2 separate regions of the Homo sapiens genome follow, and region 2 is linked to region 1. Evidence: promoter capture Hi-C in human tissues and cell types (Jung and others, 2019). All regions are on one chromosome and are shown on one strand. The core of a region is centred on a gene start or on the middle of the fragment in contact, and the rest is flanking DNA. Distances in the headings are between cores, read along the strand shown.

Region 1 (6,631 bases), core at 1,523-4,022:
TCTTAAAGTCCCACAAAATAATACTTTTGATTTTAAAATCAACTATAAAGTTTAGCACTGAGGTCAGGGCTATATTTGAATAACAGTAACTAAACATAAATATATGTCACTTCTTAAAGCAAAGACATAACAAGTATTTTAGAATAGCATGGTAAATCAATTATTAGAGATGAAAGGAGGAAACAAAACATACATCTGTTAGAGGGTCATCTGCATCAAGGTTGGCGGCAGGAATCTGGTCTAACCGTGGCTTTTTTGACACTGAAGAGGAGGTTGTATGTTCTGGGGGGAAACAAAAATCATTTAACTTAGTAAAACAAATACTTCATTTCTTAAAATGTTTTAGGGACCTGTGAGCACAAGGAGCCCACATTAAAAGCATTATCCACAGTGAACTCACATCCACAGTGCCTGGGCAAATAAGCCTTTGGTAAATATTTGTTGTTATTATCTCTAATGACCTAAGAAAGTAGTACAGCTCACATCAATCTGTAAAAGTAAACAAATGGTTAACATTTTCCAATTGCTACATAAAGAAAAACTATCAACAACATAATTTTATGAGACAAATGTCTTGGATAGTGTTGGTACCTCGGGTTGGACGATCCCTATTTTTCTCTCTTGCAGCAGCTCTCTCTCTTTCTTCCAACTCTCTCCTGAAGTCACGGTTACGAACCTCTTCAGGGGCATCCTGAGTAGTCTGTCTAAAGTAGAAACAAACCAGGGCAAAAATGTTACTTAAACACACACACACACACACACAGAGACTGTAGTAATGGAAGACAATTCAGGAATGAGACTTTGTCCTTCAAGCAGAAAAAAGGGAAGTAGACAAGATCATAATTTAATCTGAAGGTTACTAACAGCCACTCTTGTGATGTTCCCAATATTTCAAGAAGTCCAAATTCAATCACATATTTTCCTATAATAAGGCTTTACAGTGATTAAAATGTCTTTAATTTTTATTAGGATTATATCAACTCAGAACTTAACAGTAATACTTTTAATATACTGACTGGTGCTCATAGTGCATACTCTGAGGCATTATTATTTCTATTATTTATTGTTCTATCTACATATGAAAATTCCTGGTTAGTAGGAATTTCACATTTTAAAATCACAGCAGAATTTTAGTGTTAAACATCCTATTGCATTCTATTCCTATGAAAATAGATAAGTGACATAACTCAAACATACTACTATATCATGACCATGCCATTTAACAGATCTGGTCTTGTTTTGTGAACAATAAAAAAAGAAAGTCTTACTACCTGTATTTTATCTTTGTATGAGAGGGTAGGTCTCTGCTTGAATACTGCTTTGAAAGTTGGCTCAAATCACCTTCTCCTTTTCCCCTTCCACCTCTGGCAGGTTCAAAGGTTGGCCTGGCTGCTGTTGTCATCTTTTATGCTTTGAAGAAAAATATAATCAAGTTATTTCCAACATTACAAACACTCATTTTATAGAGTATTAATCAATATCCATACTGGTAAAATAAGTTCTAAAACTCATTCCCCAAAACCTGCTTAATCTTCTTAAACAAAAGTTTTCAAGAAAACAAATTATGAGGCTTAGGCTGTACAAGGAATATGGCTTCTCAGGCTTGCCTTAGTACAAAAAATTCTGTCATGAAGATCTGAGTTTGCATCCCTATTCTCCTTCTGACTATATGGGCTTGAGCAAGTCACCTGGCTTAACTTTGTCATCTGTGGAATGGAGATATTCCTCATAGATTATAAGAATTATGACACTTGACATGTCAAAACCCTAGTAAAATACAGTACTGCCATGACTGAGTTTTAAAAATTTCCAACTCAACCTTACTCTACCAGACTCTGTAAGGTTTGCATTTTATCTAAACTTCACACAATAGCAAATAGGCTAGTAGAAACAAAAGCTAAAAACAAACAAAAAATATCACTGACAAAGTTACTAAATGTCCCAGAGAAAAGTGTGTTAAACTTCAATGACAGTTACACAGAAAAAAATTCTTAAACAACCGTTTGTTGAGCCAATTTTCTCCTACAACAGGCATCATACTATAAATTAGATCGTTTGTGGGTTATAATTTAAGGCCTGTTCAAAAAAAACAGGAACCTCACCCCCAGAGGATTCTGATGCCAAAAATCAGGGACTCATTCCTCAAGTTACTTTCTGCTTGGAGCAGTCACAAGAATACTGTGCAGCAGATGCAGTCACTAAAACCCTGTTAGTGTCGGAAAAGCAAGTGTGTGGGGAGGGTGGGCGAATTGGGAGGATTTTTTGGGGGGGGGGCGATGCTAATTCTCTCAACTTTCAAAAAGGGTAGAGACATGTATACAAAGAAGAAAACAGGGTTATCTGGCGCTGGGGGCGCCGCCCCTTCCCACACACCCACGGAATTATCACTCCGGCCTCCCGTGAGCTAGTCTTTGGCTATAACCAGAAACTCGCTGCCTCTTCACCCGTGCCCAGCACTGCAGGGGTGCGAAGGGTAGTGAAGGGAGGACCTGGGGTTCGCTTTACGCAGTAGGCGAGCTGCCTGTACGCTGCGATCTCCTCGGCGGGCCCAAGAGCTCCAGACGCGCCTGACAGGCACTCGGTTCCGCCCCTAGCCCGCTGCTCCAGGGCCTCCACCGCCCGCGCTCTGCACTCTGCCGCCGACTCCGACCCCAACTGCCCTTTCCCGTCCCATCGCGATAAGAAAGATAATCTCCTATCCTCTTGCCGCTCACACTGGCCGAGGTCCGATGCAGCAGGCTCCGAAGATCATACAGACGCCATTACCACTCTTGGCTCCCAGAAACCTCTGCGCCCAGAGCTAGCGCCTACGACCCGGAAGCAAAATCCAAGCGCTTCGGGGGCGGAAGCAACGACCAATCCGCAGTGGCCGAAGTGGAAGTCGGCGTAACGGCACTAAGGGGCGGGGCCGAAGCGGCCCAGGGGGCGGGCGTTTGAAATCAGTGCCTTAGAGTAGACCCTAAACCTCATTTTATACCTTCAAGAACCAATTACTTAATGTCTCTTCCGTCTTTTCCGTCCCCGACCCCCTCCCAGACTCCTTCATTCCGGTACTGCGTGGACGGAAAGCCCCGGGTAGCCGACACCACGTCCCCGGCTAGCGGGAGAGAGCGTGGAAAAGGATTACACCAAACTGTTTAAATCCAACGACTCCTGCTTCCATCCTTTCTCCTGAGCTAGAACCAACAAACCTAGAGAGTTGGGCTTCGGAAAAACTAGTGTTTTCATTTAATTGGATATGAAGAAAGAACAAATATGTACGGGGCAACCACGATCTTTACAAAGGTACCATTCCTGCAAAAATATTAACACTTCAAAGCAAAGGTTGTATTCGTAATGTTTGCTAAAATTTCTTATTTAAAAAACGTTAGTTTTAGTGGGAGGGGAGATGTCAGTATTTACGAGAGCGTTTACAATGGTGGGCCCAACTACCAGGAGCACAAGATGTAATTATTAAGATGGCTACTTAAGTGTTAAGTTTTAATAAGACAACGAAAAGTAGAAAACCCGAAAACCAAAAACCTACCAGTCGTCTCTCCTCCCTTCCATAAAAACAAATTCTGAGAATAGAGATCTTGGTTGTTTAGCTCATCTTGGTATCTCATCACATAGACCTTGACGTATAGTAGCTGCTCAATTAATATTTGTTAAACAAATGAAAATTCAACTTCCCCAACTTAGTTTAAAATGTAAGGAACTCACAAAATTGAATATTTAAATGCTTTCTTACCCCTAAATTCTTTGCAACTTTTTAATGAAGAAAGAAAAGCAGAAAAAGCCCTTTCAGTCATAGAGTTCAAGATGAAAATCCTGATTTTTCTTACCGAAGGTATCCCTCCTCCAGTCTTAACAAGTCTCACTAAAAGACGCGATCATCATGCTAGTTACTCAAACCAAAATCCCGGAGTGCCTACTTAAATTCCTTTTCATTCACTCTTCACATACGGTTCATTTACAGGTCTTAACAATTCTACTTTTAAAACTCACCCGCAATTTTATTCTACTGCCACTACCCTTGCCTTTGCCAACACCATCTCCTACCTGGATTGTAATTGCTTCCTATTATATCTTCCTGCGTCATCTTTTATCCTACAGTCAGTGTTGCATATAGCCAAGAGAGTGATCTTTTAAAATTAATAAAATGGTGTTACTATCCTGTGTACAATTTCACTGCACTTAGAATAAAAATCACATTTCTTAATGTGACCTGAGACCCCACGGAGTCTGGTTCCTGCCTACCTTCCAGACTTCACTTCCAATCAGTCACTCGCTTACGCACTAAGCTCTAGACACAGCCAAGTGGGCATTTCTGTTTTATAAAACAGGGCAAGATTCCTTCTATTTTAGGGCCTTTGCACTAGCTTTTCTCTGTTGCCTGTGCCCCAAAGTAACTGTATCACCATCCTTCATGTCTCAGGTATCACAGTGAGGTTTTCCTACCCCCACCCCTCCAACACTTGTGTTTGTACACCATCACATCACCCTGTTTCATTTTTCATACCACTAAACATTACCAGAGTCTATTCTATTCATTTTTTATTTCCATGTCTCTCAGGAGACAGCATGCGAAGGTCATTAAGAGAAAAGGATCTTCAGCCTGCCCATTTTTGTTCTAAATTCCAGTTCTGCCCTTTCCTAGCTCTATAACCTTAGGCAAGTCATTTTCCCTTTCTGTGCTTTCAGTTTCCTCACGTGTAAAATGGGCGTAATTCTAGTCCCTAACTTGTAATACTACTCTAAGGATTAAGTGAATTAATACTTGTAAAGTGCTTAGAACTGTCTCAGCAAATAGTACTTGCTAAATAAATGTTAGCTATTATTATTATTATTAATATTATTTTTATTATTATTGTCTATCTTCCTATATTAGAACATAAGTTCCAGGAAAGCAGGAACCTTGTCTCTCTTGTTCACTGGGTGTATCCTCTGCATATAGAACAGTGCCTGGCACATAATAGGTGCTGAGTAAGTATTTGTTGAATGAATGAATGAATGAATGATGCACTATGAAGTAGAGGAATGACGTAACAATGGCAAGATGGTAACACAATTATAGGAGATACCCACAGTTTTTATGTTCCAACTGTCCTCATTAGCCTGGAGTGAATCACTTCATTGATTTAACTCCCAGCCCACTAACCTAATCTTTTGGTTGCCAGTGGTGATAAATAGCCACCCTATAATTTCATTAACACCAATATACAATATAGTCAATCCACAAAATTAAAAGCTTTTGACTTAAATGAAAGTGCTAATAAGAAAATGAAACTAAAGCTTTTGACTTAAATGGTTTGAAAGTATTAAGAAAAAGAAACTTAAGTTTACTAAAATCTTGAAATTCATCTGATCAGTTAACCTAGCTGGCAAAAATCATATAACCTCCCAAGAATTCTTATGTTAAACCTGTTACCACAAAATCTAGTTTGGCCCTTAATTCTGCCTGCCAGTCCTCTTATGCTCTCCTAATTGTTTATTTTCCCCCTCTACAATAATATAATTTCCCACATTCCCCTTTCTTCAAGTCTACATGCCTCTTTCACCTCCTTTTCCCTCTGCATTCTCTTTCCTGGCAGTAGATCTTCTCAGTTCTCTGAGAAAACAGAAGCTCTTAAACAAGGACTTCTCATCTCCTTTTTTCCGCAGATCTATCGAGCTGCCTTTGGCTATTCCTGTATCCTCAGATTCTCATTATTACTGGAGATGAGGTGACCCACACTCTCCCTTGTGCTCTGGGTCCTAATTCCTCCAGGTTTCTTAGTGGCTGGCATTTTGCTATATATTTTCTCTTTCTTATGATCTATGAGGCCATCCCTTTCAGATCATTTTTATCAGCTTTTGGACATGGTATAGTATATCTTAACCTTAAAAAAGGCTCTTTCATTTTAGTATGCCAAAGGTAGCATTTAATTAAATGTGAAAGGGATGTAGTTTGGCCCTTGATTGCAAAACTTTCTATTTTTATGGCAGGAGTAGCATAGGAATTCCAGTTTAAAGCTTAAACAAAATCAACACCTAAAAGGGAAAATAGAAACCATAAAAACCTAAGAAGAAAATTTAAGAAACTATTTATAGAACCTAGAATTTGGAAAGACCTTTCAATCAAAGCAGAACACCTTAAGAGCTTTAAAAGAAATACTTTTAAAAATTCATTTATCCAACAATTAATTTTATAGCTGTAGATGCCAAAAACAAGTCAATAAATTCTAGATTCGCAAATAAATTTTGTAATGCCTATAACATATAAAGGATTACTGCTACTGCTAGTGATACACATAATATAAAAATCACAAATTACCCAATTAAAAAATGGACAAAAGATATAAGCAGGCCATTCAGAAAAAGCAATTTCAAATAGACAAGTCAATAAACATGAAAGACACTCAACCTTCTAATGAGGAAAATGAAAGTAAACTAAAAATGGATTATCACATTACAGCATCCGATTGGCAACAATTAAAAAAATTAATAACATAGTTGGATGGGATTGAGAGAAAAGGGGATCCAGTCAGACAGCGGGGGGCATTGGTCCCCCATTACCCTCACAGTAAAAGCCAAGGTGTTCACAATGGTTTCCAAAGTTTTCTATGGTCTACCCTTTCCCCTACCTCTTTGACCTCATCACTTGCTCATG
Region 2 (6,631 bases), core at 1,739-4,238, 310 kb before region 1:
AGTCAGAAAGCAACTTAGCAAACTTCTAGTCCAGTGGTCCACAATTCTGGCTGTACGTTATAACCACATGGAGCCCTTTAAAAATACCAACACCTAGATCCCACCCCTAGTGCTTCTGATTTGATTGATACAAGGTGGGGCTTGGGCTTTGGTGTTTTTTTTTTTTAAATGCCCCAGATCATTGTAACTTGTAATCAGGATTGAGAACCAGAGAACTGGTCCAACCCTTTCATTTTACAGAAGAGAATGTTGAGGCCAAGAGAGGTTAATGACTTGTCCAGTTCAAACAGCCAAGCTCCCTGCCACTGCATGTGCCATGCTGACCCCACAGTAACCTGCCCCTCCTTCACTAGGATAACTCCTGGTCATGAGTCACAGCTTGGCTTAATTGTCCATGCCTCTGTGGGGCCTTTTCTAACCTACCAGCCCCTAGCCTTCCAGGCCAGGTGGCAGCCTTTCCTCTGTCCCTGTAGCTTTCACAATGACTCCCTTTATCACACAGATTGATTTTTCAGGCTTTCCTCCTCTAGACTGTGGACTCCTTTGGGGCAAGAAATAGCCATGTGGAGGGAAACTAATAGGAACTTGTTCCAAAGTGCAACAAAGGAGGATTCCAAATCACTTCCAGTTTCCTAATTCATAAGTAATTCATACTGTCAGATTCATCTCTGCCTGTTACTAGTGTCTCTTGCTTTTTTGCTTGCATTTATTTAATAATGCTTATTGAACTTCTGATTATAAAAGTAATTCACACTCATGGTGGGGAATTTGGAAAACATTCACAATTACACAAGTAAAATAAAATTCCCACAGAATCACCACCCGAGGGCCTGTTATTGATGTGCTTCCTCAATTGATCAAGCATTTATTGAGTACCTATCACATGCCACTTGGTGTCAGAACACTATGTTCAAGCCAGCCCTCAACCTCAGTGGCTTCACTCTCTTTATTTGTAACATAAGCTCCATGTTTGAAATTTTGTCCTCACAACAACCCCATATAGTAAGTATTATTTCCACACAAGCAAAAAGAAATTGCCTAGGTTTCTTAGCCTGGTTCCGGGATTAGCACGTAGGTCAGGCTGATGCAAAGCCTGTGCTTGCTCTATTAAGGCTGTTGAATTACCAGGCTCTAAAGGCTTGGTCAGTTCAACAGGTCAGATTCTGAGCTCTGATAGTAACCATAAAAACACATGGTTAAGAAACAGTGAGCAGTGCTGTCATGGACAGCTGCACAGGTTGTGCATTGTCAACCCTGAGAGGCATCACTCACATTAAAGTCTACATGAACAGCTTCGCAGGAGCTGTGTAGTGCCATGGACTCAGGGATGAGGGTCTGCACTGAGCTGAGGACTGTGTCTCTGGGCTGAGCCTGGAACACCTGCAGGTTATGGAGCAACATGGAGGGTTAAATTGCCTCAGGTAAGCTGTCAAACCACACTGTGCACTGAGCCACGGAACTGAAATGCCACATGCACACAGGCCTTCTGAAAAGCTCTCTGAAATGCCAGGAGAGAAACAGAACAAGAGGGAGAGAGATGAAGGGTAAGCACTTCAAGGCCATTTACCTGTCTCTTGGAAAAGCACTTTCTTTGAGAGGAATTGCTAGTGCAGGATGAGGAAGACTCTGCTGGTGGTGGGGAGGAGTAGTGGAGGATTGCTCCTTGGGCCGGCCAGCCTGCAGCAATGGCTTCAAGGCCAAGTTGAAAACTGCTTGGGAAACATCCACGCTAGTTCCTGGGCATCCTGGGGGAAGTGAATAAAGCCAAAACAGCTTTCTTCCCAGCGGTGGGGCGGGGTGACCATATCCCCATAGAACTTTGGAGCAAGGAACAAAGAGCTCTTCTCATAACTCAGAAAAATCATCAGGAGAGAATTGTGAGGACGTAAAATGAGAAAACAACAAAATAAACTTGTAGGAGACACAGGATGCTGTTTTAATAATCAACATTGTCACCTTAACAAACCCTAGCATTTCTGTGGCATTTGCAAAGCATTTTCATACACATTTGATCTTCCCAACGACTCTGTGAGATTGTTACTACCGCCACTTTACTGATGAGGAAACTCAGGGTCAGCAGGACCTGCGATATGGCCCATACCTATCAAGTGTGGCAGCCAGGGCTCCTGATAACGCATCTGAGCTCCCTTTGTAGGAGGAAAGTTTCAAAACTCACAGTGGGAAGATGTCCTAGGGCAGTCTTGGAAAGAATGGTTGGGAAGAAGGCCTGGAAAAGGACTGGTGACTCTTAGCTGGCTGCTCCATCTTTAATCTTGCAGGGAATGGCCTCTTGAACTTTCAAGATCTGACATCTGCCCGCCCTCCAGAGTCATTACCATCTGTTACCTCTTATTTTTGACACTCTGGACTCCTCCAACCTTAGCCATTATGAGCTGCTACTACTCTGCTTTCCTGAAAGATTATCCTTCCAGGTGTTTCCCCTGGTTATTTCCTATTCAGCAGTTGCCTCCTCCAGGGAGCCTGTCATAATCCCCATAATCTGGGTACCCCTTCTCTAAGTTCCCATAGCTTCCTTTTGCATACTTCCCTCAAAGCAATCATCAATTGGCTATTTGCTTAGCTGTCTTGGTAATCTTGTCAGTGCCACCTCCAACATAGATTTACAATTAAATCATTCCACTTCTACTAGTAAAACTCTAGGCTGAGCCATCATCATCTCTCACCTGACAACAGCCTCACCTCAGCTCTTACTTCCTTTAGTCCGTCCTCCACATGGCTGTCAGAAAGAGCTCTCTGGGTCTAAACGAGAGCATATCACTCTGCTGCTTCAAACCCTCCATTGCAGGCAGGAAAACTACAATTGGTGCACTGAATCTGGCCTGCCACGTGTTTTCATAAATAAAGTTTTATTGCAACACAGCCATGCTCATTTGTTTAAGTATGGTCTGTGGCTGCTTTTGACTATAATGGCAAATTGAGTCATTGCCACAGAGACCATTTGACCTGCAGAACCCAAAATATACCTAGCCCTTTACAGAAAAATTTGCTGACTCTTATTCTATTGGCTTGCCATCTGTTTTGGTGATCCACTGTTATGTAACAAACCAACCCAAAGCGCTCTCCCTTTTTACTTCTTCCTACCTATCTCTCAATCTTGATTGATTCTGAGGCTGTCCTGAGGATGTGGGTGCTATAGATTGAATGTTTATATCCCTCCAAAATGTATATGTTGAAATTCTAACCCCTCCGAGTGATGGTATTAGGGGGTGGAGCTTTTGGGAGGTGATACCCCATGAACAGGATAAATATCCAGGAGGCCCCAGAGGGCATCCTTCCCCTTCTACAGTGTTGGGACACAGCCAGAAGGCAGCCGTCTATGAACCAGGAAGCAGGCCCTCTCCAGACACTAAATCAGCCAGTGCCTTGATCTTAGACTTCCTGACCCCAGAACTGAAAAAAACAAAATTCTGTTGTTTACAAAGCACCCAGTCTATGGTATTCTGTTATAGCAGCTTGTGCAGACTAGGTCAGTGGACCTAACTGAGAGCCTGCCTATGGTGTTGGGTGGGCCACAGGGTTTTGATGGTACTCTGTGGTTGGGGTCTCCACACGCTTCAGATACCTCTGTTAGTCCTAAGACCTCCCCAAGTGTTTGGATTTGTCCCAAGATGAGCTTGGCATGTAGCGTGGGGGCCCTTACGACTTATAATGGGAGAGTTCCAGGTCCTAACAGTGAGTAGCTCTGCCCACCAATGTTTGTTGAGTGAAGAATGAACATGAGGGTCAATCCCAGCCTCACCCTGGTCAGAGATTCTCTATCCTGACCCCTGGTATGAGATCCCAGTCTTTTGGCTTCTCCCACTCGTGCTTGGCCCTTCCTTTCCTGCCCTTGCTGGATGTACCTGTCTGTCTCCTCTCTGTACTGCCCCTTGCACGGGGGAACAGTGAACTCTGCTACTGGAAACCTTGGAAAAGGACAGCATATACATATGTACATTGTAGAAGAAGAGAATAAAATGGGTCAGAATATCACCCCAGGCCCTTGCTCCAAAAGATGAACAGTTTCTTTCTCCTTCGAAAAATCTACTCAGTAAGGCATAAAGCAGAAGAAACCTGGCAATTCTATTTGAAATAGAATCCTCTTCCCAAATTACCATATTTCCAATTAGAACCACATCTTCCCCCTGGCCTCTGCCCCCTTGCTCTCTCTTCTGTGCAAAGCTGTAGTGGGGAAATGTGGATTCCACTGATTAAAAGGAGCCTGTGATGGGCCTGCCACCAGTGGGTTCTGAAGAGACACATCCAATTAAAACAGACAACATTTTCAAAGACCCTAGTCAGCATTTCATCTCCTCAGCACTTTCTCCAACATGTCAGTGTTACCTGTGGCAGTTCTTCTCGCCCCCCGGCCCCCAGCCCCCTGGCAACATGAAATTTAGGTCAGTAACTGCATAATCCACAAAAGCAACCCTGGTTGCCTCCTCTCCCTCCTCCCACCTTGGGAGTTGTATGTTTGGAAATACATAACTGGCCCAGTCATTTCCCCCCAGCAGACTTCAGGGTCTGGGGTGGGAACTCAAGCCTGGCAATGCTGGGAGGCTGATGGCACCTGTGATGAGACAGAGACTGAAACTGATGATGTGATTCAAGAATGAAATAAAGCCCAGCTCCCACCCAGGGGGCCAGCTGAGCTGTCTCATTGTAACATTAAACTCTATACTCTACCTTGCAAATCAACTGTGTGACCTGGGAGAGCCACTAACCCACTCAGGGCCCAGGTTTTCATCCATGAGATGGGGTGAGCTGGCTGAACCTCTAAGCCTCCCCTGCTGCTCTAGTGCCAATACTTCTCTGCTTTCACAGAGCCTTTTGGAGGCAAATACTCTTTCTCAGGGGTAATGGGGGTGCAGGTCACCCCACTAATCAGCTGAGTGTAAATCTGTGTCCACTCGTTTCTGGAGATGCCTTTGTGAGACCTGGGCAACCCCATTTCCCAGACAGAGAAATGCCACTTAGCCAAACTAGCAGAGGGAATTGGCTTCCTCCCTAAGCATCGCGCTTGCCATTGACACAGCACTGTTTTCTCAAACAGGAAAGTAAATTCTGTGCTGGGAAAAGTGAGAGACAGAGTAGGCAGGCTGGAGCCAGCCCAGGGGAAGAGGACGTAGAAAATGTCTCCTCATACTCCTCCTCCCTTAAGCAGGCCTCTCCTGTGCAGAATTCCTGGCATTTATCAGAGAAAAGCTTTTCACTCTACATTTTTCCACAGTAAAAAATAAGAGAGATAGACCTAGGAACAGCCACCCTAGTTTTGTCTAAAAGACCATCTGACCACAACTGCAGCCTGGAGAGGGCACACGGGGACACACTGGGTTAGGCTACGGCCATTCATCTTCATCAGTTGGGTCACACTTAGCTACAGGGACACAGAGCTGGAAGGGATCTTAGGTATTATCCAGTCCAACCTCCCCAGTCTCCAGGTGAGAAAATGGGCCCAGACAGGGAAGGTGACTTGCCCTGTTCACACAAGTTACTGGGAAGAAGGTGGACTAGGTATTCCTGACTGGCAACTAAGGTACTATCCATTATCTTACAGCCTTCATGCTATCCTTGTTTTCTTCTTCCCTGTTTGAGAATGAATGCAACTCAACAGGTATTTATGGAGCCCTCGCTTTGTTCCAGGCGCCATGTTGGGCATTGGGAATGGAGAAATGAATGACCCACACTATGACCTCAAGAAATTCACTGTGTCCTAGGGGAGATATTTATGTAGAGAAAGAAGTCTAGGTGAGCATGATAAACCCAGGCCAGATCCCTCACCTGAGCTCCTGAGCAACTGCCCCTTCCTCAGTAGTTGCACTGACTGCACTGAATTATGAGTTGATTCCACTCAACCCTGAGATCCTGGAAGACAAGGGCTGGCTTATTAATTTGTGCATCCACAATGCCCACAGCAGTGTTTAATACATGGATGGTGCTTAGTAAATATTTTTGAATAAATATGTAAATGTTTCACTTAAAACATAGTAACTAGGGAAGTTATTTAACATTCCTATGATTCAGTTTCTTTGTATATAAAATAAAAATAAGTATTTTATTTTCCAACTCTCGTGGACTAGCTTGAATTAAAATAACCATGTTGCTGAGAACTATAAAACTATGTGTGTGTGTATATATATATAATATGCACACACATATAATATACATGCCTTTAAAATAATATATACGTATTATTTGCATGTATATATGTTTTTAAATTAAATATACATACCTTTAAAATAATATATAGATAAATATTATTTTTAAGTGTATTGGCAGGAAGGCAGTGATGACCGGAATTGTCAAAATCCCAAAGAGAAAGAAAATGTTACCCCAACATTTGGAACCAGTTTTCCCCCTTGATATGGTTTGGCTCTGTCCCCACCCAAATCTCGTGTTGAATTGACATCCTCAATCTTGGGGAGGGGCCTGGTGGGAGATGATTGGATCATGGGGGTGGATTTCCCCCTTGCTCTTCTTGTGATTATGAGTGAGTTCTGATGAGATCTGGTTATTTTAAAGTGTGTAGCACTTCCCACTTCACTCTCTCTCTCCTGCTCTGCCATTGAAGACGTGCTTGCTTCCCCTTCACCTTTCAACATGATTGTAAGTTTCCTGAGGCCTCCCCAGA

Evidence for each region. The method cuts DNA at HindIII sites, captures the fragments that hold promoters and counts their contacts. A contact is called where the count stands out against the background at its distance.
Region 2: a fragment that was not itself captured here is called in contact with the fragment with the promoter of CWC15 in region 1 in 1 of the 25 tissues and cell types used here (IMR-90 fibroblasts).

What each region holds. Positions count from the first base shown.
Region 1 is chr11:94,970,784-94,977,414 of GRCh38, forward strand. It overlaps CWC15 (CWC15 spliceosome associated protein), which reads right to left and starts at 2,773. Exons shown (of 7, transcript NM_016403.4): 1 at 2,715-2,773; 2 at 1,272-1,410; 3 at 592-704; 4 at 194-282. The coding sequence starts at 1,402. It overlaps KDM4D (lysine demethylase 4D), which reads left to right and starts at 2,926. Exons shown (of 3, transcript NM_018039.3): 1 at 2,926-3,285; 2 at 4,871-4,965. RefSeq lists enhancers at 2,050-2,825, 2,540-2,709, 3,030-3,179. The HindIII fragment of the contact is 10,665 bases long and covers 1-5,634 here.
Region 2 is chr11:94,664,147-94,670,777 of GRCh38, forward strand. All of the region lies in intron 4 of PIWIL4-AS1 (PIWIL4 antisense RNA 1), which reads right to left. Among named protein-coding and RNA genes, the nearest start is that of LINC02700, 29 kb to the left of the region's middle. The HindIII fragment of the contact is 6,066 bases long and covers 1-6,021 here.